Linked DNA regions of Homo sapiens: regions 1, 2, 3, 4 and 5 are each linked to region 6. Evidence: promoter capture Hi-C in 16 types of primary human blood cells and fetal thymus (Javierre and others, 2016). All regions are on one chromosome and are shown on one strand. The core of a region is centred on a gene start or on the middle of the fragment in contact, and the rest is flanking DNA. Distances in the headings are between cores, read along the strand shown. Region 1 overlaps SAG (S-antigen visual arrestin). Region 2 overlaps GIGYF2 (GRB10 interacting GYF protein 2). Region 3 overlaps DGKD (diacylglycerol kinase delta). Region 4 overlaps GIGYF2 (GRB10 interacting GYF protein 2). Region 5 overlaps DGKD (diacylglycerol kinase delta). Region 6 holds the start of INPP5D (inositol polyphosphate-5-phosphatase D).

Evidence for each region. Contacts are between HindIII fragments. The CHiCAGO score rates a contact against its expected background, and 5 or more counts as called.
Region 1: a fragment that was not itself captured here is called in contact with the fragment with the promoter of INPP5D in region 6 in 1 of 17 cell types (neutrophils); the score reaches 6.5 in neutrophils.
Region 2: a contact is called between a fragment that was not itself captured here and the fragment with the promoter of INPP5D in region 6, in 2 of 17 cell types (naive B cells and endothelial precursors). The highest score is 5.6, in naive B cells.
Region 3: a fragment that was not itself captured here is called in contact with the fragment with the promoter of INPP5D in region 6 in 1 of 17 cell types (neutrophils); the score reaches 8.7 in neutrophils.
Region 4: a contact is called between a fragment that was not itself captured here and the fragment with the promoter of INPP5D in region 6, in 1 of 17 cell types (neutrophils). The highest score is 6.5, in neutrophils.
Region 5: a contact is called between a fragment that was not itself captured here and the fragment with the promoter of INPP5D in region 6, in 1 of 17 cell types (neutrophils). The highest score is 6.7, in neutrophils.

The regions. Positions count from the first base shown.
Region 1 is chr2:233,338,598-233,341,781 of GRCh38, forward strand. SAG (S-antigen visual arrestin) reads left to right here. Exons shown (of 16, transcript NM_000541.5): 12 at 79-156; 13 at 1,858-1,881. Among named protein-coding and RNA genes, the nearest start is that of DGKD, 14 kb to the right of the region's middle. The HindIII fragment of the contact is 5,690 bases long and covers 1-3,184 here.
Region 2 is chr2:232,756,823-232,759,591 of GRCh38, forward strand. The region is part of intron 6 of GIGYF2 (GRB10 interacting GYF protein 2); the gene reads left to right. Among named protein-coding and RNA genes, the nearest start is that of KCNJ13, 18 kb to the right of the region's middle. The HindIII fragment of the contact is 682 bases long and covers 1,081-1,762 here.
Region 3 is chr2:233,359,998-233,363,092 of GRCh38, forward strand. The region is part of intron 1 of DGKD (diacylglycerol kinase delta); the gene reads left to right. Among named protein-coding and RNA genes, the nearest start is that of DGKD, 7.1 kb to the left of the region's middle. The HindIII fragment of the contact is 7,993 bases long and covers 1-3,095 here.
Region 4 is chr2:232,800,612-232,803,461 of GRCh38, forward strand. The region is part of intron 14 of GIGYF2 (GRB10 interacting GYF protein 2); the gene reads left to right. Among named protein-coding and RNA genes, the nearest start is that of KCNJ13, 25 kb to the left of the region's middle. The HindIII fragment of the contact is 533 bases long and covers 1,202-1,734 here.
Region 5 is chr2:233,390,032-233,393,169 of GRCh38, forward strand. DGKD (diacylglycerol kinase delta) reads left to right here. Exons shown (of 30, transcript NM_152879.3): 3 at 372-452. Among named protein-coding and RNA genes, the nearest start is that of DGKD, 37 kb to the left of the region's middle. The HindIII fragment of the contact is 5,698 bases long and covers 1-3,138 here.
Region 6 is chr2:233,058,724-233,061,622 of GRCh38, forward strand. INPP5D (inositol polyphosphate-5-phosphatase D) reads left to right here and starts at 1,619. Exons shown (of 27, transcript NM_001017915.3): 1 at 1,619-1,889. The coding sequence starts at 1,756. RefSeq lists enhancers at 1,294-1,573, 2,174-2,263 and a silencer at 1,774-1,853. The HindIII fragment of the contact is 5,811 bases long and covers 1-2,899 here.

The sequences.
Region 1 (3,184 bases), core at 136-2,635, 280 kb after region 6:
TCGAATGGAAAGGCTGCCCATCTGCTCTTCACCCTCCTCTGCTCTCCATCATTCTCCTTTTCCCTTCTGTTTGGGCAGCATTAAGGAGGGCATAGACCGGACCGTCCTGGGAATCCTGGTGTCTTACCAGATCAAGGTGAAGCTCACAGTGTCAGGGTAAGTGTCCCGGCACCAACCCTCGGGCTGCTCTGTCCTGGTCTTAGATGGTCTGAACTTTTCCTTTCCTGAATGACTGGGAGACAGAAAGCAAGGAAAGGCCCATAGCTTCTACCAAGGATTACCAAGTAGAGCTTGGGAGAGATTCTGTTTGTCTAGTACCATGCTTCTGTCTGATAAAATGTCAGGTGGGAAAGGGTGGAGAAGCAGACTCTGAAATGTGTGCATTCTTAGCGCCACTTTGCAAAAATACGTGTGCATATGTGCATGTGGTAGAAGCTGATGTGCAAGAATGAGGATTAGTCAAATGTTATCCTTCAGAAAAGAATAACTGCTGTGAAAGAACTCTCAGTAAATCTTCATGTTTTTGCATCTTAGAAGGTATCCATCCATAAAGTGGGGACTTTCCCCTCCCCTCTCACACATGTAATCACAGGGCACAGGAGTCTTCTTTTCATACAAGAGTGCCAATATCTCAGAGTTTTAAGGGAACAGGTTTCCACTTTCATTTTCATGTGAAGCCAGTTTCTTCCATTTGTTTAATCTTACCAAAAGGGAAAAACTTGAATTCTCATTTTCGTTTCAAATTCCATTGCCAAAGGCTCTGGCCTTTTACCTGGATGAGCCTTGGGTAGTTCTGCCATCAAAGGCAAGTCTGTGCCTAGGTTTCATACTTCTAAGTAGTAAAGAATTCCCTTGAGGAAAATAAGCGTTTAAAAAGAGTTTCCCAAATTTCTAACAAAGTAGAACATGGGTCTATTTTGCATTTTTCGTTAGCATAGTGTTTTTTTTTTTTTTTTTTTCACTGTGGATAGTGCATAAAAGGATCTAAAAACAGGGTGGAGTTTCTTTTAGCAGTCAAGGAAAGCAACCAGCAGGTATTTCACAATGACCTCTTGTGACTTATCTTGAATGTTAGGGCTTGACTTTTTTTTTTTGAGATGTAATCTCTCACTCTGGAGTGCAGTGGCATGACCTCGGCTCACTGTAACCTCCACCTCCCAGGTTCAAGTGATTCTCCTGCCTCAGCTTCTGAGTAGCTGGGATTACAGGTGCCCACCACCATGCCTGGCTAATTTTTGTATTTTTAGTAGAGACGGGGTTTCACCATGTTAGCCAGGCTGGTCTCGAACTTCTGACCTCAAGTGATCTGCCCACCTCAGCCTCCCAAAGTGCTGGATTACAGGTGTGAGCCACCGTGCCCAGCCAACTTTTTTTTTTGAGACGGAGTCTTATTCTGTCACCCAGGCTGGAGTACAGTGGCATGATCTCAGCTCACTGCAACCTCCACCTCCCAGGTTCAAGCAATTCCCCTGCCTCAGCCTCCCGAGTAGCTAAGATTACAGGCGCCTGCCACCATGCCCGGCTAATTTTTGTATTTTTAGTAGAGATGGGGTTTTACCACGTTGGTCAGGCTGGTCTGGAACTCATGACCTCAAGTGATCCGCCCACCTCGGCCTCCCAAAGTGCTGGGATTACAGGCATGATCCCCCATGCCCGGCCTTTTTAAACTAATCATCTTGAGAAAGAGATGAAGTCACAGGTAATGAAGTTGAACATTAAGGGATGGGAAGACCCTGGATGTTGTGAGTTCGGGTGCAAGGGCCATGAGAGCTGGGCTGTGTCCTGCCTCTGAATCATGGGAAAGGGTCGTGTTACCACTGTGACAGTTAACGACAGGCGTTTGTTTGTGTTTTCTAGCTTTCTGGGAGAGCTCACCTCCAGGTAAGCCTGTTCACCTTCCTTGTTTGATTGTTTCTCAAGATATCAAAGGCAGCAAACTTGGGGCTCCAAAACGGTTTCTGATGAAAGCTGCTTTCTGGACAGTTGTGCTCAGAGGTGTTAGGAATGATGCTTTGCCTTCGGATGCATCACAGAACCGTGGCTCATAGGCGTTTCTTTGGGACCAGATTTCTTTGGGACCACAGCTAGACCTATGCCTGGGTAAGGACACACACATACACACCCAGAAAACTGGCACACTCCATGCAGCCAGCTTGTGTGTGTGTGTGTGTGTTTGTGTGCGGTAAAATACACATAACATAAATTTTACCATTATATTATTTATTTTATTTTTTGAGATGTAGTCTCACTCTGTGGCCCAGCCTGGAGTGCAGTGACGTGATCTCGGCTCACCGTGACCTCCACTTCCTGGGTTCAGGCAATCCTCCCGCCTCAGCCTCCTGAGTAGCTGAGATTACAAGCGTGTGCCACAACACCTGGCTAATTTTTGTATTTTTAGTAGAGACGGGGTTTCCCCATGTTGGCCAGGCTGGTCTCGAACTCCTGACCTCCAGTGATGATCCTGCCTTGGCCTCCCAAAGTGCTGGGATTATAGATATGAGCCACCACACCTGGCAAATTTTACCATTTTAACCGTTTTGTTTTATTTTATTTTATTTTATTTTGAGACAGAGTCTTGCTCTGTTGCCCAGGCTCGAGTGCAGTGGCATGATCTTGGCTCAGTGCAACCTCTGCCTCCTTGGTTCAAGCAATTCTCCTGCCTCAGCATCCTGAGTAGCTGGGATTACAGGTGCACGCCACTATGCCCGACTAAGAGCTGAGATGATGCAGTACATAACCTCAATGCCTGTCTCAAATGTTTCTTAACTTGCTGCTGCTTCGTGCATAATTTAAAAGGCAGCTGTCACTATTTGCAATACCAAAAGGTAGAAACAACCCAAATGTCCACCAACAGATGAATGGGATAAACAAAATGTGGTATATCCATGCAATGGAATATTACTGAGCCATAAAAAGGAATGGAGTACTAGTACATGCTACAACATGGATAAACCTTATACTAATAACACTACGCTAAGTGAAAGAAACCAATAACAAAAGGCCACATATTGTATGAATCCATTTACACACAATATCCAGAACAGGCAAATCTATAGAGATAGAGAACAGATTAGTGGTTATGCCAGGGACTATAGGGAGGGAAAATGAGAGTGACTGGTTAAGGGGGATGAGATTTTCTTTTTGGGTAATAAAGATGTTCTAGAACTAGATAGTGGTGATGGTT
Region 2 (2,769 bases), core at 172-2,671, 300 kb before region 6:
TATTTAACCTATAGTTTTACATATTTTTGTCTTGGAAAAATAGTTCTTATTTTGATATTACTTGTTTCTTTGATATCTGCCCCCTATTTTGGGTTTGCTGATTTTCTCCTATATGACGACATTCTTAAATATTTGTAATATGAATATTTGCTTAATCATGTAGCTCTTACGTTGACTAAATCATAACAGTGGTCTAAATACACCTTGTGATTTTCTGTAAGAGATGCTTTAGAAATGGAAGAATTGGATGTCTGCAATGAGTGAGACCATTGTCTCTGCATATTGTACCACCAAGATTGGCATGATCATGAGTATAGAGTATTTAAATTCTTTATAAATAGAGTAATTTATCTACAGTCTCTCTAGAAAATGCATTCAATTGTGCATTCCTGGGAAGAGATTTCTTTTAGTAGTCCACTCAGAATGTGGGAATCCAGGTGTGAAGTGTCTGATTAAAAGTCTCCACTTGTTTTGCTAGGTACTATTACATAGTTGTGTTTTTCCCTCTGGCTTTATTTGTCCATCTTTAGAGAATATTTTTTTTTTTAACCTGAGGAGATGTTAGACTAATCTGTAAAACTTAAAGGAAATACCTGTGCAACAAAATTTTGGGTGGTGGGATCTAGGCATGTGTGTGCTTCAAAAGCTCCACAGGCAGTTCAGATTCATACACCGAGTTAGGTTCCATTGGTCCAGAATTTGAGATCCATGCATCTTGGTGGCATGGTGGTGGTTTCGAGTTGGGACTGACCACTTATGGCTCTGGCCTGCTGCTTGGGCATTTCCTGTGTTTTTCTGCTGTGGGTTGGTAGCAAGGAGAGGTTGTACTTGGGCAGCTTTGCCTCCAGTGCTTTTCAGGGCAAGCCAGGGAGAGATCTTCTTGGTGAAGAAGTGTGAATAACACCGACTTTTGTGTGCTGCAAATACCAACCAATCTCTGAACAGCACCCCCCGCCCCCCGCCATTACTTAATCTAGAAACAAGTGAATGATTGAATTTCTCCTTGCTTTTTGGTTTATGATTGAATTTCTCCTTGCTTTTTGGTTTCTTTGAAATGAAGGGTTATCACATATGATAGAAAGCTTACATTCAGAATTTAATCAGGCTATGTAAAAAAGATAGATGTGACATATGTAAGAAGTCATGACTTTATTTACATATTAATGTTGAAGAATGGCACGAAACTAGTCAAGTGACTGAACTGACTTGGTGTGAAAAGTACTTTTAACATTATCTCAACCACCCGTGATTCTTCTTAATGATCTCAGTAGCTCATTTTCTGAAAGAAGGTTGTAATTATAATCTGTGGTTTTGTGTTTTCCACTCATTACTTAATTTTAACTTGCTGGTTAAATAATGATTATTGTGGCTTTTCTTTGTATAGGCAGAGCTAACACTAGATGATTATCTTGGCTGTTTGCAACTTTAGGAAACTTTGATGTGGAAATTGACTGATTTCCAGGCTGCTAAATATCATGTACTAGTAAAATTTAAATAAACTAAATAGGTGGTAAGAACAACATGAAACTGTCATTTTATTTGGTTAGGTTGTTTAAAAATAAAGCAGATTGACAGAGCTCTCAACTATTGTCTTCATCATTATTAAAAGGAAGTATGTTTTAATTCCCAAAAAGAATAGGGTGAATTCTTAGTAGAACAGTTCTTTAATTGAGCCTTACGATAGGTTCATCATGTTATATTTACTTCCTTATTCATGTATGGGAACCACTTTATAGAAGATTAAAATTTTTCCAAGTTGGAAAGCTTTAGAACCTGATCGTTGTAGTATGTCCCACCCTAAAGTTTTAGTATCATTAGCAGGACCGGTGTCAGTGCTAGTTATAACTGAGAAAATATTTTATATGTGTTTTGCTTGTCTTTCTGGTAAGCTGGAGGCTATTTTTTATATTTATATGTTTCTGGAATAAAACATTTTCTTCAAGGTGATACAAGTGTAAGGGCCTTCCTGAGCAAATGGCTTTCTCTAAAAGATGAGGAGACTTTTGCCCCCATCCTAAAATCTTCCTTGTAGAGGACATGCGTTATATGACAATTTATATTACATTATTTTAGGATCTTAAATACAGTGTATACATTTCCTGAAGGGGAGAAGTACTTAAACTGTGAGTTGACTTTAAGTGAAGTTGACACAAGTGGAAGGGTAACTTTATTATAGTTCCACCGTGCTTCTCACTTCCGTTTGACAAATGAAGAAGTGGATACTTGCACTCGTCAAGAGGGTATCCATTGTTTCTAAGATTACCCACAAAATAATTTGGTGCATTATTTTGATACTTCATAATATAGTCATATAAAAGTACAAGTGTATTCTGAGTTAATTCTTGATAAATTACAAACAAGAAATAGAAATACTGCATGGATATTTGAAGTAATTAGCTCAATTATATTTAGCTTTGGGATGCATTCATCAAGATCCATCATTTTTCTTTGGGTCATTGTGCACTGTGAGAAAAATTGAGCTAGGGACGATGGCTAAGATTTCACCTAGTTACAAATACATCCTTGGACCCCCACCCCTCCTCCCCTCCTCTCATTTTCTCACCTGTGTATTGAATACAAATGTTTGTTGGGAAAACTGTACATAAAGTATGAAGCTAAAAGTGCATACGGTCTTCTGCCTCCAGACCTAACAATTGGATATATAGCCTTCTTGACCCTAACGGTGCAGCTATATCATTTATATAAATGGAATAATTTTTATATGCATCATTCTTCAGTATGTTCTTGTTATTGAACAGAATAATGTCC
Region 3 (3,095 bases), core at 563-3,062, 300 kb after region 6:
GTGCCTTCTGCTTCTGGCAGTGGTGAGCTGAGTGACTGCAGCGCCACTCTTCCAAGCACAGTCTGCTAATAAGATGATGCTGAATTTCTGGACTAGGATCTGGGGTGGCTGAAGATCTGTGGAAGTGAGTGTGGTATTTGGGGCTGCTTTTGACCTTGGAATCTGTAGTGGCGTCTGTAGTGGATTTGGCATCTCTACCAAATTTGGTCCACCTAGAACTTCAGGATGCCCACATAATAAGATATTAGTTAAATATCTTTAAAAAAATTTTTTTTCTTTTTTTCTGAGACAGGGTCTTGCTCGGTCGTCCAGGCTGGAGTGCAGTGGCATACTGCAGTCTCTGGCTGGGCTCAGGCAATCCTCCTGCCTCAGCCACCTGAGTAGCTGGGACTCCAGATGCATTCCATGATGCCTGGCTAATTTAAAAACACATTTTTATGGAGACGAGGGTCTCACTATGTTGCCCATGCTTGGGGTCTCAAACTCCTGGGCTCAAGCGATCCTCCCCCTTTGGCTTCCCAAAGTGCTAGAATTACAGACATGAGCTACTGTGCCTGGCCAAAATTTTTTATTTTGAGATAGGGTCTTGCTATATTCCCCAGGCTGGTCTCAAACTCCTGGGCTCAAGTGATCCTCCTGCTTCAGGCTTCTGAGTAGCTGGGAGCGTAGGCTCAAGCCACTGTGCCTGGCTAATTAAAGATTTTGAGAGTAAATCATCGTGAACTTAGGAGAAACTCTAAATCCAGTGTTGGTTTCTTTATAAGAGGAAGGGGAGGGAGATTTGGACAGAAAGACATGTTGGGAAAAAGGTTATGGGAAAATAGAGCCGGAGATTAGAGTTCGTTGATGCAAACCAAGGAATGCCTGGGGCCACCAGAAGCTGGAAGAGATAACAGATGGAATCTCCCCTAGAGCCTTTAGAGGGAGTGCGGCCTTCTGATCCCTTGATCTCCGACTTCCAGCCCCCAGAGCAGTGAGACAGTCAAGTTTTTTTTTTTTTTTTTTTTTTCCAAGTTTTGTTTTAAGCCTTGAAGTTTTATGGCAGCCCTAGGGCAGCCCTGGGGAAAGAACACTGGGCCCTGAACAAAACATGGGAGCCAAGAGGCTGAGCCCTGTGAGACTGTCTGAGTGCCTTAGCAGGGCTGAGGTGCCAGGTTCTGCCAAAGGGCAACAGTCCTGGGTGACACCCTCCCCTCACAATTTGGATTGGGATCCAAAGAAGCCACTTCCAAGGAATGCGCAGGAGCCAGAAGTATTGGAAGGACTGCAGCCCTGCTTCAAATCACCTCAGTCCTCTGAAATTAAAGTAATCCCAGTGTACTAGTGTCTCTAGATTCCCAACAGAAGCAAACTTTAATCCTCTCTAGAGGGAGATATCTCCCTCTAATCCTCCCAGTTATCAATGGAGGCCTCTAATGACTTTCACGAGTCTGTTTGTACGTTCATGATTGTGCATACAGTAAAAAAATAGACATCAAGGGAGGCGAGGCACTTGAGCTAAAACCAGTCGAAACTACAGGCTGTAGACAGACCCACAGGGCTTCCAGACTCCAGACCCAGACTTTATAACAACTGTGCTCGTTGTGTTGGAGGAGACACGAGATCAGATGGAGAGTTTTGGCAGAGAACTAGAAACTATGGAAAAGAACCAGATGAAAATTCTAGTCCACACTGGCCAGATGGCTCACGCCTATAATCTCAGCACTTTTGGACTGAGGCAGGTGGATCATTGGAGGTCACGAGTTTGAGACCAGCCTGGCCAACATGGCAAGATCCCGCCTCTACTAAAGATACTAGACATTTTTTTTTTCTTTTAAGACGGAGTCTCACTCTTGTCACCCAGGCTGTAGTGCAGTGGCATGATCTCAGCTCACTACAACCTTTGCCTCCTGGGTTCAAGCAATTCTCCTGCCTCAGCCCCCCGAGTAGCTAGGATTACAGGTGCCCATCACCACGCCCAGCTAATTTTTTGGTATTTTTAATAGAGACGGAGTCTTACCATGTTAGCTAAGCTGGTCTCGAACTCCCAATCTCAGGTGATCTGCCCGCCTCGGCCTCCCAAAGTGCTGGGATTACATGCGTGAGCCACCTCACCCAGCCAATAAAAGAAAATTATAAAATTGAAAAAGCATAGTGATCAAAATTAACTAACCAAAAAAAGAGCAGATTAGACCCAGGCTGAAAAAATTGTGTGAACCAGAAGATAGCTCAGAAGAAAATACCCACAAGGAAGCCTGGAGACATAAAAAATGGAAAAATTTGGAGAGGGTGGGAGACAGATATAGTAAGAAGGTCTTACTTGTGTTTAATTGTCACAAGAGAGGAGAAGTGAGAGAAAATTGAGGAGACACAATATTTGAAAAGATAATGTGGCCAGGTGCAGTGACTCACGACTGTAATCCCAGCAGTTTTGGATGCTGAGGTGGGCGGATCACCTGAGGTTAGGAGTTCAAGACCAGCTTGGCCAACATGGTGAAACCCTGTGTCTACTAAAAGTACAAAAATTAGCTGGGTGTGGTGGCAGATGCCTGTAATCCCAGCTACTCGGGAGGCTGAGGCAGGAGCATCGCTTGAACCTGGGAAGTGGAAGTTGCAGTGAGCTGAGACCACACCATTACACTACAGCCTGGGCGACAAGAGCGAAACTCTGTATTAAATAGAAAAAAAAGAAAGAAAAGTAATACCTGAGAATTTTCTACAACAAATAACAGGTACCATGAACAGATTCGATAGCCGTATGAACTGAAAGAACCATATCTAATCAATTCCTGGTACACCCTTGTGCTCTGCATAATGATGTTTCCGGATGATGATCCACATGGACAAAGGTGGTCCCATAAGATTATAATGAAGCTGAAAAATTCCAATTGTCTAGTGACGTGGTAGCTGTTATAATGTTGTAGGGCAATGAATTACCTATGTGTTTGTGGTGATGCTGGTGTAAACAGACCTACTGCACTGCAAGTGGTAGAAAAGTATAGCACATACAAGTATATACAGTACATAATAGTTGATGATGATAATAAACAACTATGTTACTGGTTTATGTATTTACTATCTATACTTTTTATTATTTTAGAGTATATTCTTCCTAC
Region 4 (2,850 bases), core at 218-2,717, 260 kb before region 6:
TCTTGCTCTGTTGCCCAGGCTGGAGTGCAGTGGTATGATAATGGCTCACTGTAGCCTCAAACTCCTGGGCTCCAGTGATCCCACCCTAGCCTCCTTAGAACAAGCACACACCACCATACTCAGCTAATTATTTTTCTTTTTTAGAGATGAGGTTTCAGCTGACACACGCTGGCTCATGCCTGTAATCCTGTTTCCTTGGGAGGCTGAGACCAGAGGACTGCTTGAGTCCAGGAGTTTGAGATCAGCCTGGGCAACATAGTGAGACCCTGTCTCTCGCTTTTTTTGAGACAGAGCCTTGCTCTGTCACGCAGTCTGCAGTGCAGTGGGGCAATCTTGGCTCACTGCAACCTCTGCCTTCTGGGTTCAAGCAATTCTCTTGCCTCAGCCACCCAAGTAGGTGGGATTACAGGCATGAGCCATTGCGCCGAGCCAAGAGATCCCACCCCATCTTTAAAAAGAAAAAAAAGAGACAAATTCTTGCTATGTTGACCAGGCTGGTTTTGAACTCCTGGCCGTAAGTGGTACTCCCTGTCTTTCCTCTGCCACCTTGGCCTCCCAAAGAGGGATTATAGGTGTGAGCCACTGCACCTGGCCAAAAAATTTTATTAATTACATTTTTAAATAGTCATATAAGGGGCTGGGCGTGGTGGCTCATGCCTGTAATCTCAGCACTTTGGGAGTCTGAGGCGGGAGGATCACTTGAGTCCAAGAGTTCGAGACCAGCCTGGGCAACACAGTGAGACCCTGTCTCTACAAATAATAAAAAAGCCAGGCATGGTGGTATGCACCTGTAGTCCCAGCTACTTGGGAGGCTGAGGCAGGAGAATTGCTAGAGCCCAGGAAGTTGAGGCTGCATTGAGCACAGCACTTGGCTTGAGTAACAGAGACCCTGTCTTAACAAACAAAAAAAAGACATATACATTATATATTTGTTGTATACGACATGATGTTTTTAAATACGCATACATATTATGGATGGCTAAGTCAGGTTAATTAACAAGCATACTAATCATTTTATAGTGAGAACACTTAAAAATCTACTTGGCAGTGTTTTTTAAGAGTACAATACATTGTTAACTATAGTCATTGTTGCATGATAGATCTCTTGCTATTTTTCAAGAAAGAAACATTGTTTTGGCCATTTGCTGTCTTTTGAGACTTCGTATGTATTTTAGGATGGGATTTTTCTGTTTCTGCAGCAAGCTTCATTGGGATTTTAATAGGGATTATCTTTAATCTGTAGGTTGCTTTCGGTAGTACTGACATTGTAACAATGTTAAATCTTCCAGTCCATGAACATGGATGTGTTTCCATTTATTTAGGTCTTTAATTTCTTTTAGCAGTGTTTTGTAGTTTTCTTTGTACAAGATTTTTACATCCTTGGTTAATCCCGAAGTATGTATTCTTTTTGATGTTATTGTAAGGGGAATTTTTTTCTAATTTTCTTTTCAGATTGTTCATTGTTGGTGTATAGAAATGCAACTGATTTTTCAGCGTTGACTTTGTGTCCTGCCACTTTGCTGAATTTATTTTTTACTTCTAACCTGTTTTTAGAAAAAAAGAATCTAGAATTTTCTGCATAAAAGATTATATCATCTGTGAACAGACTTCTTCCTAATTTGGATGCTTTTTTTTTTTCTTGCCCAGTTGTTCTGACTAGAACCTTTAGTACTATCTTGAATAGGGAAGTGGTGAAAGTGGGCGTCCTTCGCTATCTCCTAATGTTAGAGGAAAAGCTTTCAGTTTTTCACTATTGAATATGATGTCCACTGTGGGATTTTTATATATGACTTTTATTATATTTAGTTAGATCTCTCTATTCTTAGTTTCTTGACCCTTATGAAAGGGTGATACTACTTCTGTGTCAATTAAGATGACCATGTGGTTTTTTTCCCCCCTTATTAATATGGTATATTACATTGATCAATTTTCATATATTGATGCCTTGAACCATCCTTGCATTCTAGGAATAAATAAATCCCACTTGGATTATGGTGTATAATCTTTTTAATATATTGCTGAATTTGCTTTGCTAGTATTTTGTTAAGAATTTTTGCATCAGTGTTCATAAAGGATATTGGTCTATATTTTTCTTTAGAGCCTTTGTCTGACTTTGATACCAGGGTAATTTTGGCTTCATAGAATTAGTTAGGAAGTGTAGGTAATCTTGCTTCCTTTTCAGTTTTTGGAAAAAGTTTGAGAAGGATTATGATTAGTTTTTCCTTAAATGTTTGGTGCGTTTTTCACCAGAGAAGCCATCAGGGCAGGGCTTTCCTTTGTCCAGAGATTTTTTTTTTTTTTTTTTAAAGACAGAGTCTAGCTCTGTCGGCCAGGCTGGAGTGCAGTGGCACAGTCTCAGCCCACTGCAACCGCTGTCTCCCGAGCTCAAGCAGTTCTCCTGCCTCAGCCTCCTGAGTAGCTGAGATTACAGGCGTGTGCCACCATGCCCGGCTCATTTTAGTAGAGATGGGGTTTCACCATGTTGGCCAGGCTGGTCTCGAACTCCTGACCTCAGATAATCTGCCTGCCTTGGCCTCCCAAACTGCTGGGATTACTGGCGTGAGCCACTGTGCCCGGCCTGTTCAGAGATTTTTGATTACTGATTCTAGATACTAGTCCTTTGATGGATATGTGGTTTGTACATATTTTTTGTCAGTCTTTATCTTTTCATTTCATTCTCTTAATAGAGTCTTTCACAGAGCAAAAAGGTGTAAATTTTGATTAATCCAATAGATAAATGTTTTTCTTTTATAGGTTGTTCTTTTTTGTATTAAGTTTAACAAGAACACTTTGCCTAGCTTTAGATGCCAATGGTTTTTTTTGTGTGTGTGTGGAAAAATTTTATAGTTT
Region 5 (3,138 bases), core at 26-2,525, 330 kb after region 6:
AAAACACTGTGTGAGAACATACTTCACATGTAAAAGTGAATACTGGTATTGACAGTAGTAAATACAGAAATACCAGCATTGGGTTGTTTGCTTTGGTTCTCTCTCTTTCTTCCTTCACTAATGCAATGACAATGTTTGTAGATTTTTTTAAAAAAATCATGGCACTATACCTGTGAGCCCGAGCTTTTGGTTAGAAGCAGGTGGGTGGGTTAATTTGGATTGGCTTATTGATTGGATGCTACAGTTTCAAGGTACTGGGGCTTCTGTGGGTGCTTGTTAGGGATCATTGGGGTGTGGTGGGCAGCGCTGGCTAGTGCTTAGGGATGTACCTGTCTTTATGTGCCTTAGTCCCTGTGTTTGTCTCTTTCTAGTCAATCATATTTGATGAGGTGGATCTGACAGATGCCAGCGTAGCTGAATCCAGTACCAAAAACGTCAACAACAGTTTTACGGTAAGATTCCTCAGTCATGCCTTTCTTGATTCTTCACTGAAGTTGGCTTTCCTTTTTGATCTGAACATGTGTCCAAGCAGTTCAAACGTTTTCATTCTTTTCTTACTGATTGGAATGATTGCTGGTAAAATTTGAATTTAATGCTGAAAGTAATACTGTGGTTGGAGAATAACCAAGAATTTGGCATGCATAAGCACAAAAGGACAATAGGGACCAAATGAAAAATTTTTATATGTGTTTTGGTTCACGTCTGTTTTGTTTTTTTTGAGACGGAGTTTGGCTCTTGTTGCCCAGGCTGGAGTGCAATGGCGTGATCTCCAGCTCACAGCAACTTCCGCCTCCCGAGTTCAAGCGATTCTCCTGCCTCAGCCTCCCGAGTAGCTGGGATTACAGGCATGTGCCACCACACCTGGCTAATTTTGTATTTTTAGTAGAGACAGGGTTTCTCCGTGTTGGTCAGGGTGGTCTCGAACTCCCAACCTCAGGTGATCCACCCTCCTTGGCCTCCCAAAATCCTGGGATTACAGGTGTGAGCCACCACGCTTTGCTGGTTCACATCTTACTACCTCTGTACAGAGTTTTGTTTTTTGTGATTAATGTAGAAAATTTGGAAAATGCAGACAAGTATGTTAAAGCAATTAAAAAGCAGCCATAACAGCCACCTCAAAAAACATTGAATGTTAATATTTTGGTGTATTTCTTTTTTTTTTCCTTTTTTATGTTTAAACTTTCTTCCTTCCAAATTTATAAAAGTTATGTAGGACTTTCTGCAAAAGTTCTAAATGCACAGAATCATGTGATCTCACCACTTGGAAGTGGCCAGCTGCTTACTCTACAGTGTTTATCTTTATTTCTGTATATTTATGTCTTTACCTACATGTACCCATGAGATCATGCTGAACCTTTTGGTTTACACCTGTGTTTTTTTCCCCCCCCAGGACAATTTATAGTAGAGAGTTGCTCATGTCAGCTGATCTAAATGTTCATGATATTATTTAATGGCTATAGTAGCATTTTCTTGTAGGATTTTATAATTTAGGCTTTACGGGCTGACTTTAGCGCCTGCCTGTGTAAGGTTTGACTCTAATAACAGCACTAGAACTTTTAAAGCTGTTTTTCTTTATGTTATTAGGCCATCCCATGTAGACAAAAAGTGTGTACCCTAATTAAAAAAATTATTCTTTTATAATTCAGTCAAGGTGAGTAATTTTCCTCAAGTTTAGGATCTGATATTTTGGGTTAGTGCTAGTTTCAGGTGCTTTCAAGTTTTGTTTTATTTTATTTATTGATGGATTCATTGTTGATGTTGCCAATACAAATGGGATTTTCCTTTCTCTGTCTAAACCTCTGCTTATTTTGTGTTGATTAACTGCTCTTATTTTACTTGGAGTATTTGTAGTTTTCTCTATTAATTTATTTTTACCAGCTGGGAAGAGACATTTTTAACCACATAAATAGATTTTTCTTTGATTCGTGGTTTTTAGAGTCTTTAATAGGAGTAGGTGTTGAATTTCTTTGGAGTGTTCTGAGCATCAGTTGATTAATTAATGAATTTTTTTGAGATGTTGTCTCCCTTTGTCACCCAGGCTGAAGTGCGGTGGTGTGATCTCGGCTCACTGCAACCTCCGTCTCCCAGGTTCAAGGGATCCTCATGCCTCAGCCTCCCTAGTAGCTGGGATTATAGTCGTGCACCGTTATGCCCAGATAATCTTCGTAATTTTAGTAGAGATGGGGTTTCACCATATTGGCCAGGCTGGTCTCAAACTCCTGGCCTGGAGTGATCTACCCGCCTGAACCTTCCAAAGTACTGGGATTACAGGCATGAGCCACTGTGCCTGGCCCTGGGCATTAATTTAGATGTTCATTTTGGTTTCAGTTATTTGCATATTTCCTAATAAAAAAATTATTCTTGGTAATGTTGAATTTTACTCCTTTATCTTGCAATTTAGAATTTTCCCACTGGTATGTATGCATTTGTTTTGGGTGAGAATGTAGCCTTATTGCAGTTTTAAACAATTGTTTTTTCTGTTTTTAATTTTAATGGATACATAATAGTTGGACATACTGTGTTTTGATTTCAGAGTTAAACCAACCCCATAAAATTCATTTAGTAACTTTCTATGAGTTTATGTTTTCTGCAACATTTTATGTAGCTTTGGGATTGGTTGTTTCTTAAGTTCGAGAGAATTTATTTTAAATTATTTGTCAAGAAGACTTTTTAGGGAGATAAGGCTGTAATAGAAATAAATCCTAAAATATTTATTTCTTGCATTTTGATCATTTTTTGAACCTTTTCACTTTTTGAGTCCACATCTGTAATTTACTTTCCCACAAATTTCACACCTTCAAAGTTAGTAGCGTGTACTGTTGTGTAGTTTAAACACCTGTGTCTCTGGTTGAATCTCCTTTGCATTTCTAATTTTATTAGTTTAGTTTGCTTTTCTTGTCAGATTTCGTAAACTCTAGCATTTTTGTTTTCTTTGTTTTTAAAGAGAACTAGTTCTTAGATTATTGAACAATTCTCCTTTTCTGTTTCCTTTTTTATTTTTTTGAGACGGAATCTTGCTCTGTTGCCCAGGCTGGAAGGCTGGAGTGCAATGACGTGATCTTGGCTCACTGCAACCTCCACCTCCTGTGTTCAAGCGATTCTTCTGCCTCAGCCTCCTGAGTAGCTGGGATTGCAGGC
Region 6 (2,899 bases), core at 369-2,868:
GTGAAGGTACACAATGGGAGCATAGGAGATGACCCCATAAGGAGGGGGTGGACAGGTGCTGAGTGGAGGCGTGGGTGGGGAATGAGAGGCCTCCACACTGGGCTGCTGCAGAGGTGGCGTGCTGCGGAAGGGCCGGAGCATGGAGGCCAGTTCCCATCACCACTCTATCCCCACGCCTGGCTCCCAGCCTGGCCAGAGGTCCTTGACTGGGAGTGCTTTGTCTGCCCTACAGACTCGCCTGCCATGTGTGTTGCTCAGCGGGGAGGTGCTGGGGGCCCTGTTCTGGGACAACCATCAGTGTGACACATGTTGAGCCCCTGGGCACATGTGAGCTCTTTTACGAGCTACGTCCTTCAAGTTAGACAAGAAGAAACCAAGGCCGAGAGAGAGAAGAAACTTGACCAGGTTCCCACAGCTTGAATGTGGTGGCGCTGCCTGGCTGGTGCCCCTTCCTGGAGGGAGTCTGTTGTCATGTCCTGGAGGCCAAGGCCTGGATGTGGGATGGTGGGGGCACTCTTTGTGCAGCGGGTCAACACGTGCCCCTTCGGCCTTGGTGGGCCGGACCCAAGGACGGAAGGTGCCCAGGTCTGGGGGCTGAGGGATGGGTGTCCACCGCAGAGCCCTCAGAAATGACTGGTCCTGGATGGCGGTCCCTGGAGAGGCAGCTCCTCTTTGAGTGGTGGGCATATGTGGCCATGCCCAGTCTTGGAGGCGGTGCAGTCCGACCGGCCACCCCGACTGCTGAGACGCAGGACTCAGCACCCAGTGTTGTCCTTGGCCAGGCGGCCAGCCTGCCCTGTGGGGCTTTGGGGTTCTCCTCTCCGAGCTTGTTTCCCCAGCATCCTGGAGAAGCCCAGGGAAAAACCCAGCCTATGTTCCCGCTGTAAACGGCCCACATCCCCTCCAAGCTCCCTTTGTGTGTCTCCAAGCTGGACTGCAGGGATCAGAGCTGTGCTGCCCGTGCAGCACCCACCCGCCCCTGGGAATGAGGGTAATGGGGTCACAGAGCCATCACTTGGACCTTGGCGCCCTCGGCTGGTGGCAGCCAAGGTCTCCCAGCACCCAGGCCGCTGGGAGTCTCTAAAGGGGAGGGGTGGGGCTCGACTGTCCCCTCCCCCTCAAGTTTGCTCTGTCCTGGGCAGGCCGTAGTCCCAGTTGAGAAGCTGTGCCCCCTTGGGTGTTTTGGAGGTTCAGGGTGGGTGCTGAAAAGCCCTGAGGGAGAGCAGAAGGCTCGGGGGCCTGTCTAGGGCATGGCATCCCACGTGGGTGTCAGCACGGCCGCAGAAGAACCACTTCTCTGGCCCACCCATGCCTGCTAGGCCATGCTTCTTCAGAAGTGGCCACAACTCTCCTGACGTCTCCAGAGCCGGTCATTCCACCCAGGGGGACTTCAGCTGCCACTGGACACTTCAATTGTACGCTGCGACCAGTTGCCAGGAAGGAGAGGGCTGGCAAGAGAGCCGCGGCAGCCGTGGCAGGGTGTAGGGGACGGTGGACGGCCAGGGCCCCCCCCTCTCTCTCTTTCTCTCTCTCTCTCTTGCTTGGTTTCTGTAATGAGGAAGTTCTCCGCAGCTCAGTTTCCTTTCCCTCACTGAGCGCCTGAAACAGGAAGTCAGTCAGTTAAGCTGGTGGCAGCAGCCGAGGCCACCAAGAGGCAACGGGCGGCAGGTTGCAGTGGAGGGGCCTCCGCTCCCCTCGGTGGTGTGTGGGTCCTGGGGGTGCCTGCCGGCCCGGCCGAGGAGGCCCACGCCCACCATGGTCCCCTGCTGGAACCATGGCAACATCACCCGCTCCAAGGCGGAGGAGCTGCTTTCCAGGACAGGCAAGGACGGGAGCTTCCTCGTGCGTGCCAGCGAGTCCATCTCCCGGGCATACGCGCTCTGCGTGCTGTGAGTACAACCTGCTCCCTCCCCGGGCACAGATATGACAGAGGGGCTTAGAGGGGGCCCAGCTTTGAGATGGGTTGTTCTTATGTCACAGGACAGAGTGATCTGACATGCACACTTCCCCGCCACCCTGTCATGGACCTTGTCCTTGGAGTTCAGAGAGCTGGTCTCATGGCAGGTTTTGCAGCCTTGGAGCTGTCAGAACCACTCTGAGGCCTGATGTTACACCCCAGCTTCCCATGAGCTGTATGGACCTTGTGGCTTCCTTGGAGTCTGGGGACCGAGAGAAGGGAGTTTGGGCTTTTGGAGCCAGGAGGAAGCTCAGGGCTCTGTGGAGGTGGGTGTGTTAGAGATCAGCTCAAAGATGCCCAGCTCAGAAACCCTGAGAAGAGCAAAGGTGGCAAGGGGGACCCTTCCTGGAGCACCCAGGCTTCGGGCCCCTGGAGGAAGCTGTTGTTTGGCGAGCCAAGAATATGGGGTGAGTTTAATCAAGAAAGGACTTTCCATTCAGTCAGAAGCTGCTTTCAGGGGCCTGAGAGCAGAGGAAGTCACCATTACCACCAGCGAGCAGCCTCTTCTCTCTCCTGAGCACTTGGCTGTGACCGCTGCCCACCCCCCACCCCCTCAATTTGGGTCTCTGTCACCATCAACTCCTCCCACTGCCCGGTTGGGGATGTTACTGAATGTACCAGCTGTGCTAACAATGGAGGAACCAGCCACTTGCTGAAGGTTCCTTTCTAAAACCCCCTTCCTGTCCAGCGTCTGAAGGAGGCCCTTGCCCTGCAGCTCTCGGTCTAATCATAGGGGGGCCTTGCCCTGCAGCTCTTGGTCTAATCATTTTGCCGGGGCCTCAGGCAGTGCCGGAGTGTAGTCAGGGAAATGTGTGTCCACCTGAACATCTCAAGTAGCATCCCTGGGCTGGCAGAAATGTTCCCCCGAGCAGCCAGGGCCTTGTGCTTCTCCAGGCAGGAGGGGAATTGGGTGATGAACCCAGACCTGTTTTGAATACTGAC